Regions from separate parts of the Homo sapiens genome. Here region 1 is linked to region 2. Evidence: promoter capture Hi-C in human tissues and cell types (Jung and others, 2019). All regions are on one chromosome and are shown on one strand. Each heading gives the region's core, a stretch centred on a gene start or on the middle of the fragment in contact. The rest is flanking DNA. Distances are from core to core; before and after follow the strand shown. Region 1 overlaps RPA1 (replication protein A1). Region 2 holds the start of SERPINF2 (serpin family F member 2).

What was found. The method cuts DNA at HindIII sites, captures the fragments that hold promoters and counts their contacts. A contact is called where the count stands out against the background at its distance.
Region 1: a fragment that was not itself captured here is called in contact with the fragment with the promoter of SERPINF2 in region 2 in 1 of the 25 tissues and cell types used here (pancreas).

What each region holds. Positions count from the first base shown.
Region 1 is chr17:1,886,744-1,889,944 of GRCh38, reverse strand. It overlaps RPA1 (replication protein A1), which reads right to left. Exons shown (of 17, transcript NM_002945.5): 14 at 1,094-1,270. Among named protein-coding and RNA genes, the nearest start is that of RPA1, 58 kb to the right of the region's middle. The HindIII fragment of the contact is 3,558 bases long and covers 24-3,201 here.
Region 2 is chr17:1,740,972-1,744,210 of GRCh38, reverse strand. It overlaps SERPINF2 (serpin family F member 2), which reads right to left and starts at 1,340. Exons shown (of 10, transcript NM_000934.4): 1 at 1,303-1,340. The HindIII fragment of the contact is 23,738 bases long and covers 1-3,239 here.

The DNA of each region.
Region 1 (3,201 bases), core at 553-3,052, 150 kb before region 2:
CACTGCAACCTCTGCCTCCCGGGTTCAAGCGATTCTCCTGCCTCAGCCTCCCGAGTAGCTGGGACTACAGGCACCCGCCACCACGCCCGGCTAATTTTTGTATTTTTAGTAGAGACAGGGTTTCACCATGTTGGCCAGGCTGGTCTCAAACTCCTGATCTCAGGTGACGCACCCGCCTCGGCCTCCCAAAGTGCTGGGATTACAAAAGTGAGCCACTGTGCCCGGCCTTAAACTGTTTTCTTAAACTGCTATTATCGCCTAGTTCTATCATTGAAAACAAAACAAAACAAAATAAAAATCTTAAGGCCGGGTGCAGTGGCTCAGGCTTGTAATGCCAGCACTTTGGAAGGCTGAGGTGGGAGGATGACATGAGGCCAGGAACTTGAGACCAACCTGAACAGCAGAGCGAGACCCTGTCTCTACAATAAAATAATTTTAAAAATTAGCTGGGTGTGGTGGTGCACAGCTGTAGTTGCAGCTACTTGGGAGGCCAAGGTGGAAGGACTGCTTAAGCCCGGGAGGTTGGGGCCACCATGAGCTGTGATGATACCATTGCACTCTATTCTGGGCAACAGAGTGAGACCCCTGTTTCTTAAAAAAAAAAAAAAATTTTTTTAAACCCAACTTTACAACTTTTTTAAAAAGGTTTTTAAAACAGAAAGAAACAATTCTTAAAATGCAAAAAAGCAACAATCTCACATCAGCACACCGTCACATTCCTCTGAAGTCAGCTATACTAAAGCTAGAGAATAGATTATCCACATGAAAGTGACTAAATACGGGCATTGGCTGTGTAAGTACAATTAGTGCTGTCTATAAATGCCGTTTTCAAATTAATTTATCTTCATAGCAGTTAGCAGGCAAGTGTCACTGACGCTATGGCTGTATGACGTGCATGAAAGACTGAATCAGCTGGGGTATCTCAACACCACTTTCTGGCATGAAAAAGCGGATGGATAAGCTCTTCCACACCTACTCATCTGCGGGCTTCCTACCAGGAATGCTTTGTCTCTACTGTTGTGACCACAGTGCCTGGCACACGGGAGGGCCTCCGTGAACACAACCGTGGTTCTCATCTACCGAGGCTACTTACTGACAGGATCATGCGGTACTTGAAATTGGGAAATTCGGTGTCGCACTTCTCACAGCGGTACAATCCATTCTGTTGATCAATCACTTTCTTATTGCAGTCCTGAGTCGGGCAGGCTTGGTACATGCAGTTCTCTTTGCGAAGATACACCACTGTGGCCACAGAACTAAAGTAGTCCGGCTTCGGGAGAAAAGAACAGCATGAGGCACGGAGTCGCGAGCCCGCCCAGGATCGGACCGAGAGGCAGCTCAAAGCCTGCCCTTACGTTTAGGTGGTAAGTGTTTCTACATCCTCAAGATTACACATGATCACAGGGAATCATTCATTCTGTAGTTTTAGAAATCACATGTGCCGAGTACAAAACCCATGAAGGTAATAAGCCAAGTTCTAATAAGCCAAGTTCTGAGGCAGATAATTCCTTCACAATAAAAGAGTTAATCCTAAATTACACTAAGTTAATTAAAAGTGAAATTGTTTTCCTGTTTGCTTGAACACTGTATGAAAGACAAAGATTTGTTCCTCCCGATCCTCTGACCCTCCAAAGGCCACAGATCTAGGAAATACAGAATGCGGACCACAAACACCCAGTGCAGCAACGATCAACCATCCCTCCCGCGCTCAAAACACGGCAGTCGTGTCTAGGCCTAGATTCACCTTTTCCTTGTTTAGGCCAGGGATCAGCAAGCTGCTTCTGTAAAAAGCCAAACAGTAAATATTTCAGGCCTTAGCAGCCATTTGGTCACAGTCTCTGCTGCAACTACAGACACACCTCACTTTATTGTGCTTTGCTTTACTGCACTTGACAGATACGGCATTTTTTACAGATTGAAGACTTGTGGCACCCCTGGGTCAAGTAAATGCACTATTTTCCCAATAGCAGGTGCTCACTTTATGTCTCTGTGTCACATAAAGACAGTAATTCTTGCAAGATTTCAAACTTTTTCATTATATATGTATTTTTTGAGACAGAGTCTCGCTCTGTCGCCCAGGCTGGGGTGCAGTGAGTGGTGTAATCTCTGATCACTGCAGCCTCCACCTCCCAGGTTCAAGTGATTCTCCTGCCTCAGCCACCCAAGTAGCTGGGACTACAGGCGTGCACTACCACGCCTGGCTAATTTTTGTATTTTTTAGTAGAGATGGGGTTTTGCCATGTTGGGTAGGCTGGTCTCGAACTCCAAACCTCAAGTGATCCACCCACCTTGGCCTCCCGAAGTGCTAGGATTATAGGAGTAAGCCACCATGCCTGGCCCTTTTTCATTATTATCATATCTGTTATGGTGATTTTTTTTTTTTTTCTGAGACGGAGTCTCGCTCTGTCACCAGGCTGGAGTGCAGTGGCATGATCTCAGCTCACTGAAATCTCCGCCTCCCAGGGTCAAACGATTCTCCTGCCTCAGCCTCCCGAGAAGCTGGGACTACAGGCATGCACCACTACGCCCAGCTAATTTTTGTATTTTTAGTAGAGACGGGGTTTTAACCACGTTGGTCAGGATGGTCTCGATCTCCTGACTTCAGGTGATCCGCCTGCCTCAGCCTCCCAAAGTGCTGGGATTACAGGAATGAGCCACCGCGCCTGGCCTACAGTGATCTTTAACGTCACTATTGTAGTTGTTCTGGGGTGCCACCAACTACACCCATATAAGATGGGGAACTTATATTGATGAATGTTGTATGTATGCTGACTGATCCTCCAATCAAGTATTCCTGTCTCTCTTCTTTGAATACACAAATAAGAAAGCAAACAGCCTTACTGCTGATATGGAGTAAGCTGTAGTGGTCTAGATAGAATATCAAGCAAGCCACAACATTCTCTTAAGCCAAAGCCTAACCCAGAGCAAGGCCTCACCTTTCTTCAATTCTGTGAAGGCTGAGAGAGGTCAGGAAGCTGCAGAAGAGGCCAGGTGCAGTGGCTCACACCTGTAATCCCAGCACTTTGGGAGGCAGAGGCAACATGATTGCCTAAGCCAAGGAGTTCGATACCAGCCAGGCAACATAGTGAGACCTAGTCTCTACAAAAATCTGTCAGGGCACGGTGGTGTGCACCTGTAGTCCCAGCTACTCCAGAGGCTGAGGTGAGCTGTGATTGCACCACTGCACTCCAGCCTGGGTGA
Region 2 (3,239 bases), core at 91-2,590:
AAAGACCATCTTTGTGGCCAGGCACGGTGGCTCAAGCCTGTAATCCCAGCACTTTGGGAGGCCAGGGGCAGGTGGATCACCTGAGGTCGGGAGTTCAAGACCAGCCTGGCCAACATGGTAAAACCCCATCTCTACTGAAAATACAAAATTAGCCAGGCGTGGTGGTGGGCCCCTGTAATCCCAGCTACTCGGGAGGCTGAGGCAGAGAACTGCTTGAACCCGGGAGGCGGAGGTTGCAGTGAGCCGAGATCACGCCACTGCACTCCAGCCTGGGCGACAGAGCAAGACTCTGTCTCAAAAAAATAAATAAGACCATCTTTGTAAACCCTGAGTACAATGCTTGGCACTCCCCCGATGGCTGGGGTCAGCTTGGCTCAAGGCCACCTCTTCTGGGAAGCCTGCCCTGAAGCCTCCACCGCAGAGCTCCAACACAGAGCTCCTACCCAGCCTGCTGCATCCATTTAGCCTGTCTTTTTTTTTTTTTTTTTTTTTTTTGAGATGGAGTTTCATTCTTATCATGCAGGCTGGAGTGCAATGGCACGATCTCGGCTCACTGCAACCTCCACCTCCTGGGTTAAAGCGATTCTCCTGCCTCAGCCTCCCGAGTAGCTGGGATTACAGGCATGTGCCACCATGCCTGGCTAATTTTGTATTTTTAGTAGAGACAGGGTTTCTCCATGTTGGTCAGGCTGGTCTCGAACTCCTGACCTCAGGTGATCCACCTGCCTCAGCCTCCCAAAGTGCTGGGATGACAGGCATGAGCCACCACGCCTGGCCCCAACCCGTCTTTCTCAGGCTGGTCAGGTCTTGCCCACAAGGCTGGACATACCTGTGAGGCCCTGAGGTCTCACCATGGGTGGCAAGGCAGCCAGAGAGCTGCCTTTTGACCCAGCAGCAGAGCCCAGTGAATGACTCTGGCCAGAGCCACCTCTGCACTTAGGAGCATCACAGGCCTCTGCTCCAGGCTGGCTCTGGGAAGGGCAGGTGTTGGTCTCAGGAGGATAAGTCAGAGCAGGTCTCAGCTACCTCCAGCCCACCCCCATCTTGGGGCCAACCCTTCTGGAGGATCCTTTGGTCCCCCCGGCCCCACCCCCATCCCACACAAGAGCCCTTGGCCAGGGCCCCGACTCCGACCTGGGCATTAGAATCTTCTTGCCAAGAACAGGCTCCAGTTTTTCAAGTCCCAGAAGAGGCTGGGGAGTGACAGGCCTCCTGAATAAATCCCAGACCCCTCAGCCAGGGAGGCAGCTCCCTCCTCCTCTCCTACCCAAGGAGCAGGCCGAGCAGCCCCTCCCCTCATACCTCTGCGGGCTCCTTGCTGCCACACACAACGTTCCTCTGGCCCCACTTGGGTGCTCCTCACTCTCTGCCCAGGCTCCAGCTGGCCCAGCCCACCCCTCCCCTCCCACCAGGACCTTTACTCTCAGCCAACCCCTGTTCAGATTGCTTTCTCTTCTGGTAAATATTGACTTGCACATCCAGTTAAACATTGATCTTGAAGCCAGAAGCCCCTTTCCCACCAGGGCATCTAACCCTGAGGCAGCCACGCAGAACCCCCTATATTTGGGTCCCCCCCCCCGAGCCTGGAAAGAGAAAGTTCAGGAGGAGAGAGTTGAAGAGACTGGATCTGGCTAGCCAAGAGGGCGGATCCAGAAAGCACAGGAACCTAGCACTGTGTTAAGCCTTCCAGAGACCCCACGAGGTGTGGATTATCCCTGGTTCAGCCAGGCTCAGAGAGGCCATGTGACCTGCCCAAGGACACAGAGCTGGGCTGAGGCACATCCAGATTCTCACTCCCAATGTCCTTTCTTCTCCCAGAGAGCTGCCTCCCGCTCCTGAGGGGAGGAAAGGGGAAGCCACAAGAGCCTATGCAGAGAGCCCAGGATAGGAAGCCCACCCCCAACCTTCCAAGCCCAGGATCAGGTTGGCTGCCTTCAGACTGGGATGGAAGGCAGGGGGTGAGGGAGGAGAAATGAGAGGGACTCAACTTCTCCCACCGTCCTGCCACTCCAGAGCAATGTCTCTTTCCCCTACCCAAGAGCGAGGGTTCTGGAAACTGACCTGGGGCTGTATGAACCAGAAGCCTGGCAGCCCGTGCAAAGATCAGGCTGCTTCCCACCCTCACTGTCCGGCTCCTCACTCCCTGCATCAGGCTCCTTCCCACCCTCACTGTCCTGCTCCTCACTCCCTGTATCAGGCCCCTTCCCACCCTCACTGTCCTGCTCCTCACTCCCTGCATCAGGCCGCTTCCCGCCCTCACACCTGCTCCTCACTCCCTGCATCAGGCTCCTTCCCACCCTCACTGTCCGGCTCCTCACTCCCTGCATCAGGCTCCTTCCCACCCTCACTGTCCGGCTCCTCACTCCCTGCATCAGGCTCCTTCCCACCCTCACTGTCCTGCGCCTCACTCCCTGCATCGGGCCACTTCCCACCCTCACTGTCCTGCTCCTCACTCCCTGCATCAGGCCGCCTCCCACCCTCACTGTCCGGCTCCTCACTCCCTGCATCAGGCCGCCTCCCACCCTCACTGTCCTGCTCCTCACTCCCTGCATCAGGCTCCTTCCCACCCTCACTGTCCTGCGCCTCACTCCCTGCATCAGGCCACTTCCCACCCTCACTGTCCTGCTCCTCACTCCCTGCATCAGGCTCCTTCCCATCCTCACTGTCCAGCTCCTCACTCCCTGCATCAGGCTCCTTCCCACCCTCACTGTCCGGCTCCTCACTCCCTGCATCAGGCTCCTTCCCACCTTCACTGTCCTGCTCCTCACTCCCTGCATCAGGCTCCTTCCCACCCTCACTGTCCTGCGCCTCACTCCCTGCATCAGGCTCCTTCCCACCCTCACTGTCTTGCGCCTCACTCCCTGCATCAGGCCCCTTCCCACCTTCACTGTCCTGCGCCTCACTCCCTGCATCAGGCTCCTTCCCACCCTCACTGTCCGGCTCCTCACTCCCTGCATCAGGCCCCTTCCCACCCTCACTGTCCTGCGCCTCACTCCCTGCATCAGGCCCCTTCCCACCCTCACTGTCCTGCGCCTCACTCCCTGCATCAGGCTCCTTCCCACCCTCAGTGTCCGGCTCCTCACTCCCTGCATCAGGCCCCTTCCCACCCTCACTGTCCTGCGCCTCACTCCCTGCATCAGGCCCCTTCCCACCCTCACTGTCCTGCGCCTCACTCCCTGCATCAGGCTCCTTCCCACCCTCACTGTCCGGCTCCTCACTCCCTGCATCAGGCCCCTTCC